2 separate regions of the Homo sapiens genome follow, and region 1 is linked to region 2. The links are contacts of gene promoters, found by promoter capture Hi-C in human tissues and cell types (Jung and others, 2019). All regions are on one chromosome and are shown on one strand. The core of a region is centred on a gene start or on the middle of the fragment in contact, and the rest is flanking DNA. Distances in the headings are between cores, read along the strand shown.

Region 1 (4,743 bases), core at 2,194-4,693, 290 kb before region 2:
TCTACAAAAAATACAGAAATTAGCCGGGTGTATGCCTGTGGCGCCAGCTACTTGGGAGGCTGAGACGGGAGGATCACTTGAGCCAGGAGTTTGAGGCTGTAGTGAGCTATGATTGTGCCACTGTACTGCAGCCTGGGAGACAGAGCAAGACCCTGTCTCAAAACAACAACAAAGGCCAGGCGCGGTAGCTCACACCTGTAATCCCAGCATTTTGGGAGGCTAAGGTGGGTGGATCACTTGAGGTCAAGAGTTCAAGACCAGCTTGGCCAATATGGTGAAACCCCACCTCTACTAAAAATTTAAAAATTAGCCAGGCACTGTGGTAGGTGCCTGTAGTCCCAGCTACTCAGGTGGCTGAGACAGGAGAATCGCTCGAACCCAGGAGGTCGAGGTTGCAGTGAGCAGAGATCACGCCACTGCACTCCAGTGTGGGTGACAGAGTGAGACTCCTTTTCGAAAAAAGAAAAAACCAAAACAAACAAACAAACAAACTCCCCTCCCCCATCCACCACCTTAGATGCCCTTCACAGAGGGGACAGCCAAAGAGGACTGGAGCCAAAAAAGTAAGTGCCAAGGTGGCATGGAACTTGGAATCTGGCCCAGGGGCTCGGCCATGACGACTCTCGCTGGCATGGGCTCAGTAGAGCTCAAGGACCGCCCCCTCCGGAGGGAAGAGACGGAAGGAGTCACAGGGCTGTTTCCCAAATGCCGGGACCAGTTTAATTCTCACAAGCTCTCATTTTACAGAGGAGGAATTCCCACCTGAAGACCCCACCACAAGGATGTCGCAAAGCTGAAACCTGAGCTCGGGTCATACCAACTAAATCCGGGTTCCCATCACCCCACAACGCAGCCTTCAAGCCCCTTCCCCCGTGGAATGATGACACAGCGGTGGGCTCGGCTCTGCACTGCCCAACCCTGCCCGGCAGTGAACAGGCGAGACCACCCAGCTGGGACCCAGGGAAGAGGCAAAGAGGAGACCCCTCAGCAGGGTCCGTTTCTCCTGCCTGGGCTTGTCCTGCACCCAGGACCAATGTGGCCCTACAGGACAGCTAGAACCCTCCCCTCCTCTTCTCCCCAAGTGTCCCCAGAGCTTCAGAAAAGTGTGTGCTTAAAGGACGATTCAATGAAATAATTTTCTAAAAAGAGAATAAATACATACATACATAAAGAAGCAGGAGTGTACCAGCCTGGGCAACATAGCAAGACCCCACCTCTACAAAAATAAAAAAAATTAGCCAGGTGTGGTGGTCCACACCTGTGGTCCCAGCTACTCAGGAGGCTGAGGCAGGAGGATCACTTGAGCCCAGGAGTTCGAGGCTACAGAGAACTGTGATCATGCCGTTGCACTCCAGCCTGGGCGACAGAGCAAGACCCTGCCTCCAAAAATAAAAAATTTAAAAAAGGAAGCATCAATGTGTGTCTGTGTGTCAGAGCATGCAAATGCGACGGGTGTGCGTGTATGAGACAGAAAAGACCACACACGTGATGCAAAGAATGAGGACAGTAAAGAAAGGGACACACACACACACACATACACGAACAACCTCAGCCAGGGTGACACTGAGAGGCCTGGCCCGCTGGCTGGGGAGGGTCACTTGTCTGCACTGGCTTGGGGTTGAACCAAAAAAACAAATGTCACAGCTCTCCAACTGGCACACCCATCACCCCACCAAATTTTTTTTCTTTTTTTTTTTTTTTAACAAAACAGATAGGGTCTCACTATGTTTCCCAGGCTGGTCTCAAACTCCCGAGCCCAAGCGATCCACCCACCTTGGCCTCCCTCCCAAAGTGCTAGGATTACAGGCGAGAGCCACCACGTTAGGCCTACCAAATTTTCAGAAAAGCACCATGAGGTGGTTCTTCTAATCCATGTTACATCTGGGGAGGCTAAGGCTCGGGAGGGGAAGCGTGCTGCTCAAGGTCATTTGTGGCAGCGGTTCAAGGTCATTTGTGACACTTGATGGGTCGCCTGTGAGCCAGCTCAGCCCAAGCCCAAGCCCTTACACCATGCACCAGCATGTCCAGGCCTCTCAACGGCAGGGGCACACATGGGGGCTCCCTCATCTGGGGATCTCTCAGGCTTTTTTCACTCTCCACAAGTGGCAGGTTCATTCACTCATTCCTCTGTGTGTGCATTCATTCACTAATTCCTTGATGTGTACATTCATTCCTTTGTGTGTATTCATTCACTCATTCCTGTGTGTGTGCATTCATTGACTAATTCCTTGGTGTGTACATTCACTCATTCATTCCTTTGTGTGCATTCATTCATTCACTAATTACTTGGTGTGCACATTCATTCTTTCTTTCGTGTGCATTCATTCACTCACTCATTCCTTGGTGTGAACACTCATTCATTCCTTGGTGTATGCATTCATTCATCCCTTGGTGTGTGCATTAATTCCTTTGTGTGTATGCATTCATTCATGTGTGCATTCATTCATTCATTTCTTGGTGTGTGCATTCATTCATTCCTTGGTGTGTGCATGCATTCCTTTGTGTACATTCATTAATTCCTTTGTGTGCATTCATTTATTCTTTAGTGTGTGCATTCATTCATCCATTCCTTGGTGTGTGCATTCATTCCTTTGTGTATATGCATTCATTCATTCCTTGATGTATGCATTCATTCATTGCTCCCTTCCTTCCTTCCTTCTTTCCTTCCTTCCTTCTCTCTCTCCCTCCCCCACTCCCTTCTCTTCCTTCCTTCCTTCCTTCCCTTCCTCCCTTCCTTGCACACTTTTGAACCCTCAGGGTGATACTCATTCCCTGTGCTTATTGGCTCCCGCCTAGGTCATACTGGGTAAGAACAGTGAGGACACCTCCGCCGGGCCATTGGCTGGGACCTAGTCCAAGGCAGTGAGCTGTAAGTGGGGAGGGGCCACCCTGCAAGAGCTCAGCAGGAGCTGGAGACCTGGTAGGTCGTGGCAAGGCTGGGAGTGGGAGGAACACAGCCTGGGTGCCTTCCGTGGCCTCCCCTCACCACCCCTACTCATTCACTCAACACCTACCAAGAGGCTGCTCTGTGCCAGGCTCCGCCTGCCCTCCTCCAGCTCACAGGGCCAGTGTGTCCAGAGAGAATTACAGGACCAGGCTGGGTGCGATGGCTCATGCCTGTAATCCCAGCACTTTGGGAGGCAGAGGTGGGAGGATCACTTGAGGTCAGGAGTTTGAGACCAGCCTGGCCAACATGGTGAAACCCCATCTCTACTAAAAATACAAAAAATTAGCTGGGGGTGGTGGTACACGCCTATAGTCCCAGCTACTAGGGAGGCCGAGGCAGGAGAATTGCTAGAACCTGGGAGTTGGAGGTTGCAGTGAGCTGAGATCTTGCCACTGCACTCCAGCCTGGGTGAAAGAGTGAGAGTCCATCTTATTTAAAAAAAAAAAAAAGAACTACAGGACCACGAAAGAAGGACAAGCAGAGAAGCTCGCGCAGGCACAGAGCTTGACAATGGGGAAAGGGGTTACCTATGTTTTATTTAAATGTTTTATTTACTTAGTTTTGGGGGAGGAGGGGCCTGACAAATAAGGCTTCCCTGAGTTGATGACTGTTGAGGTGGGTTTTCAAGAGTGAATAGGAGTTCTCTGGGTACAGGAGTGGAAGGATAATACCCTGTTGTTTCCACAGAGAGAAGCAAGGGAAGAAGCTTGGTTTAGAGATATACAACCTTTGCTCTATGAGTAAAGAGAAGTTTTGGACAGAATCAATGGAATAAAAAGGCAAACCACAGAATGGGTGAAAATATTTGTAAATAGTATATCGGTAAGGGATTAATATCCAGGATATGCAGACACCTCCTAAAACTCAACAACTAAGACTGGATGCAGTGGTTCATGCCTGTAATCCCAGCACTTTGGGAGGCCAAGGTGAGAGGATAACTTGAGGCCAGGAGCTCGAGACCAGCCTGGGCAACAGAGCGAGACATCATCTCCATTAATAATAATAATCCAATTAAAAAATAGGCAAATGACTTGAGTAAACCTTTCCCCTAAGAAGATATACAAATGGCCATAAAACAGATGAAAAGATGTCCAACATCACTAAAGATTAGCAAAATGCAAATCTAAACTCCACCTCACACCCACCAGGATACCTACTATAAAAAACACAAGAAAGCGGGGCGCGGTGGCTCATGCCTGTAATCCCAGCACTTTGGGAGGCCAAGGCAGGCGGATCATCTAAGGTCAGGAGTTCGAGACCAGCCTGACCAACATGGTGAAACCCATCTCCACTAAAATTACAAAAATTAGCCGGGCATGGTGGCACATGCCTGTAATCCCAGCTACTTGGGAGGCTGAGGCAGGAGAATTGCTTGAACCCAGGAGGCGGAGGTTGCAGTGAGCTGACATCATGCCATTGCACTCCAGGCGGGGCAACAAGAGTGAAACTCTGTCTAAAACAAAAACAAACAAAACAAACAAAACCACACACAGGAAAAAAACAAGAGCTGGTGAGAACGTGGGGAAATTGGAACCCTGTGTGCTGCTGGTAGGGATGCAAAATGGTACAGGCACTGTGGAAAACAGCATGGCGGTTCCTCAAAAAATTAAAAATAGGACTACCAGCCAGGTCCAGTAGCTCAGGCCTGTAATCCCAGCACTTTGGGAGGCTGAGGCAGGAGGATTGCTTGAGCTCAGGAGTTTGAGACCAGCCTGGCAAGATTCCATCTCTACAGAAAATACAAAAATTAGCTGGGTGTGGTGGTGCACACCTGTAGTCCCAGCTACTTGGGAAGC
Region 2 (5,157 bases), core at 2,142-4,641:
GTAATCCCAACACTTTGGGAGGCTGAGGCGGGTGGTTCATGAGGTCAGGAGTTCAAGACCAGCCTGGCCAAGATGGTGAAACCCTGTGTCTACTAAAAAAGAATACAAAAAATTAGCCAGGTGTGGTGGTGGGCGCCTGTAATCCCAGCTACTCAGGAGGCTGAGGCAGAGAATTGCTTGAACCAAGGAGGTGGAGGTTGCAGTGAGCTGAGATCACGCCACTGCACTCCATCCAGCCTGGGCAACAAGAGCGAAACTCTATCTCAATAATAATAATAATAATAATGGAGGAGCTCCAGGCTGCCTACCTCCTGCCTTGGGATCCCCCTGAGGTCCACCAGGACCTGGGCTGTCCCCCTTGAAAGCTGTGTGGCTTTGGACAAGTCTCAGGACCTCTCTGGACTTCCCAAATCCCTGCGGTAAGATGACAGGGAATCTCCATGCGGCCCTGAGCCTCTGTAAGAGGCGCATCACAGAGAAGCCACCAGGCCTCTCCCCAAAAGCCAAGTGAGTCAGTGGGAACAAGTGAATTTCTGAGCCGTGTGACTGGCACGACCCACGTCACCCCGGGAGGTTGTCCGAGGAAAGCTCTGCTCTCTCTTCCCCATGGCCCGCCTGGGCACTGCCCTTCTCCCTCCTCGAAACTCTCCTTGCCTCAGTGCCCCCAACCCGGGGTGTACCCCCAACCCCTCCAGCATGGCCCAAGTTCATCTCAGGCTTGTGAGGTTGGAGCAACTTGTCTTGCAGGAGGGCTCATGGGACCAAATCTAGCCTCTGCCTGAGAGCCCCCCGCCTCAGTTTTCTCATCTATAAAATGAGGTCGGGCTGGGTACAGGGACTCACACCTGTAATCCCAATACTTTGGGAGGCTGAGACAGGAGGATCACTTGAGTTTGAGACCAGCTTGGCCAACATGGTGAAACCCTGTTTCTACTAGAAATACAAAAATTAGCCAGGCGTGGAGGTGCAAGCCTGTAATTCCAGCTACTTGGGAGGCTGAGGCATGAGAATCACTTGAACTCAGGAGGCAGTGAGTTGCAGTGAGCTGAGATCACGCCAGTGCACTCCAGCATGGGAGACAGAGTGAGACTCCATCTCAAAATAATAATAATAATAATAATAAATTAAATAAATGAATAAATAAAATGGGATCAGGCTGGGCGTGGTGGCTGACGCCTGTAATCTCAACACTGGGAGGCCGAGACAGGAGGATCGCTTGAGGCCAGGAGTTCGAGACCAGCATGGACGATGTAACAAGGCCCTGTCTCTACAAAAAAATGAAAAAATTAGGCAGGCGCAGTGGCACATGCCTGTGGTTCCAGCTACTTGGGACACTGAGGCAAGAGAATTGCTTGAGCCCAGGAGTTGGAAGCTGCAGTGAGCCAAGATCACACCACTGAACTCCAGCCTGGGTGACAGAGCAAGACCCCATCTCTAAAAACAAAAAATGAAATTTAACAAACAGTCATGTGTCTGCCCCCAGACTGAATACATCCTGCGCTGTTGGCCGGGTGCGGTAGTTCACACCTGTAATCCCAACACTTTGGGAGGCTGAGGCGGGCAAATCATCTGAGGTCAGGAGTTCAAGACCAGCCTGGCCAACATGGTGAAACCCTGTCTCTACTAAAAATAAAAAATTAGGCCAGGCACGGTGGCTCACACCTGTAATCCCAGCACTTTGGGAGGCCGAGGCAGGCAGATCACAAAGTCAGGAGATTGAGACCATCCTGGCTAACATGGCGAAACCCCGTCTCTACTAAAAATACAAAAAATTAGCCGGTCGTGGTGGCAGGCGCCTCTAGTCTCAGCTACTCGGGAGGCTGAGGCAGGAGAATGGCATGTACCCGGGAGGTGGAGCTTGCAGTGAGCCAAGATTGCACCACTGCACTCCCAGCCTGGGAGACAGAGCAAGACTGTCTCCAAAAAATAAAAAATAAATAAAAAATAAAAAATTAGCCAGGTGTGGTAGCACGTGCCTGTAGTCCCCAGCTACTTGGAAGGGTAAGGCAGGAGAACTGCTTGAACCTGGGAGGTGGAGGTTGCAGTGAGCCGAGATCACGCCACTGCACTCCAGCCTGGACAACAGAGTGAGACTCCGTTTAAAAAAATTCTGTGCTCTCTCTCTGTCTCTGTCTCCCTTTGTGTCTCTGTCTCGCTCTCACTTTCACTCTCCCATCCAGGTTCTGAAAGCAGGTGGGCTGAGGTGGAGGGAGCGGAGGGTGGACCCTCTGAGGCCCCCAGGGGCCGGCAGGGCTGGGCGGGGTGGGGAGTGGGGGCTGCCACAGACCACGGTTCTGCAGAGGCCAAAATAGCACTAAAGGGAAGTGGGCAGTTTTCATATGAACAACGATTGCCAAGAGCTGGCTTCGGGGAAGTTCTCGGGGCTGGGCTGGAGGAGCTACAGTGTCTGAATCCCGCCTGGAAGGACGCTCGAGACCACCCTGCCGGTTCTCCCAGCCTTCTCCGAGCTGAGCTGTGGTTGGGGACACTGGGGTTGGGGAGGGGGCAGCCTGGCTTGAAGCCCTGGATGGCTTTATCCACTGGACTCTGCTCTGGGGTCTGTTGGTTTTTTCATTTAGTTTTTAATTATATTTTTTTATTTTTATTTTTTAAAGAGATGGGAGTCTCACTATGTTGCTCAGGCTGGTCTCCAGCTCCTGACTTCAAATGATCCTCCCGCCTTGGCCTCCCCAAATGCTGGGATTACAGGTTGAGCCACCGTGCCCGGCTGGTCCTGTTGCTTTTTCCAAATAACTCTGGGCTTCAAATGAGCCTAGCTGGGAGGGAGAGAGGGAGGCGGGCGGGTGCAGGAGGGGCCTGAGCAGCCCTGGTCCCAGGGACAGAGTTGAGGGCCAGGTAGGGGGCTGGGCAGGGAGGCAGTGGGGGTTCTTCACCTGACCTGGGGCAAGACCTGGGCCCTGGCCTGTAATCCCACCGTTTTCCCCTGACCTGTGTAGGGGGTTACAGTCCCATTTCACGGATGAGGAAACCGAGGCTCCCAGGCCAGGGCAGCCACTGTTTTGGCTCTCGGCCACTTACTTCACCAGTCTCTGGCAATGATGGGACCACCCTGGGATGTCCCAAGGCTACACAGGCTGGACAGGGGAAGGCGAGGGCAAGAGAGTGGCCAGAAGCCCAGAAACAAACTGACCCCTGAAGTGCCACAGAGCCTGGTGCCAGGGTGAGAGTGGGGCTGCGGGAGGGGGCGCCAGGCATCCAGGCCTCTTCCCACCCCACCCAGTGGGGCCAGGAGCTCCTGGGGGATGGGGGACAGCCTGAGGACTGAGGCACCCCTGGGAAAGGCTTACCTGAGAGTCCAGGGTTCCTCACCACGGCCGCCCCATCCTGAGCCCGCACACCTGCCCAAGCTGATGCCAACACCACTGACACTGGCGGGCGGGCAGGGCGGGCTTCCTGCCAGCCACTGAATCATCCGTACATCCGCCGCACTGCCGGACAGGCTCAGCTATGAAGAGGGCGGTGGGGGGAAGGGAGGGGAGACGGGGGAAGGAGGCGGGAGAGAGAGAGAGAAGAGAAACAAAGTGAGAGGGAGAAAGAGAAGAAAGAGAGATAGGACCGGGCGAGGTGGCTCACACCTGTAATCCAAAAACTTTGGGAGGCCGAGGCGGGTGGATCACGTAAGGTCAAGAGTTTAAGACCAGCCTGGCCAACATGGTGAAACCCCGTCTCTATTAAAAATACAAAATTAGCTGGGCATGGTGGCATGTGTCTGTAATTCCAGCTACTCGGGAGGCTGAGGCAGGAGAATCGTTTGAACCTCAGAAGCAGAGGTTGCAGTGAGCCGAGATCGCACCACTGCACTCCAGCCTGGGTGACAGAGGGAGACTCCGTCTCAAAAAACAGAAAGAAAAAGAGAGAGACACAGCAGAGAGACACAAGAGAACAGGAAAATATGGACACACACTAAACACACACATAAACACAAAAAGTCACACAGAGAGGAAGAGAGATACACTCCAATAGACAGGGAGCAAGATAATGAAACTGAGGTGCTCCTGCAGATGGCAGATATGGAGACACACATACGCTAAAAAGACACACACAGGCAGAAATTCACACCCATGGGCCGGGCGCGGTGGCTCATGCCTGTAATCCCAGCACTTTGGGAGGCCAAGGCAGGCAGGTCATGAAGTCAGGGGTTCAAAACCAGCCTGACCAACATGGTGAAACCCCATATCTACCAAAAATACAAAAATTATCTGGGTGTGGTGGCGGGTGCCTGTAATCCCAGCTACTCGGGAGGCTGAGGCAGGAGAATTGCTTGAACCCAGGAGGTGGAGGTTGCAGTGAGCCAAGATAGCGCCACTGCACTCCAGCCTGGGTGACAGAGCAAGACTTCATCTCAAAAAAAAAAAAAAAAAGAAGAAGACACACACAGGCAGAAATTCATACCCATGGGCCAGGCACGGTGGCTCATGCCTGTAATCCCAACACTTTGGGAGGCTGAAGCAGGAGAATCACCTGAGGTCTGGAGTTCAAGACCAGCCTGGCCAACATGGTGAAACCCCATCTCTACAAAAAATTTAAAAATTAGCTGGGCATGAGATGGACCAAGACACACACAGAGAGACACACAGAAAGATACAGAGAGCCACAGACTGTCAGAGACACACACAGATGGGGAGAGAGCAAGAAACAGGGAGATAGAGGCCAGGTGCAGTGGCTTGCACCTGCAATCCTAACATTTTTGGAGGCTGAGGCAGGAGGATCGCTTGAGAACAGGAATTTGAGACCAGCCTGGACAACAGAACGAGACCCCATCTCTAAAAAAATTTTTTTAATTAGCTGGGTGTGGTGGCACACACCTGTAGTCCCAGTGTTTTGGGAGGCCAAAACGGGAGGATTTCTTGAGCCCAAGAGTTGGAGGCTGCAGTGAGCCGTGACTCTGCCACTGCACTCCAGCCTGGGGGACAGCAAGACCCTGTCTGTCTGTAAAAACAATAAATAGGCCGGGCGTGGTGGCTCACATCTGTAATCCCAGCACTTTGGGAGGCCAAGGCAGGTGGATCACCTTATTTAGGTCGGGAGTTTGAGACCAGCCTGGCCAAAATGGTGAAACCCCATCTCTACTAAAAATACAAAAATTTGCCGGGTGTGATGGTGGGTGCCTGTAATCCCAGCTACTTGGGAGGCTGA

What was found. Contacts are between HindIII fragments. The study calls those that stand out against the background at their distance.
Region 1: a contact is called between a fragment that was not itself captured here and the fragment with the promoter of LAT2 in region 2, in 1 of the 25 tissues and cell types used here (IMR-90 fibroblasts).

Annotation. Positions count from the first base shown.
Region 1 is chr7:74,497,382-74,502,124 of GRCh38, reverse strand. All of the region lies in intron 1 of GTF2IRD1 (GTF2I repeat domain containing 1), which reads right to left. Among named protein-coding and RNA genes, the nearest start is that of WBSCR23, 33 kb to the left of the region's middle. The HindIII fragment of the contact is 8,291 bases long and covers 1-4,743 here.
Region 2 is chr7:74,208,240-74,213,396 of GRCh38, reverse strand. LAT2 (linker for activation of T cells family member 2) reads right to left here and starts at 3,391. Exons shown (of 14, transcript NM_032464.3): 1 at 3,309-3,391. RefSeq lists enhancers at 318-377, 508-587, 2,458-2,577, 3,798-3,907 and silencers at 2,268-2,357, 3,468-3,517. The HindIII fragment of the contact is 33,709 bases long and covers 1-5,157 here.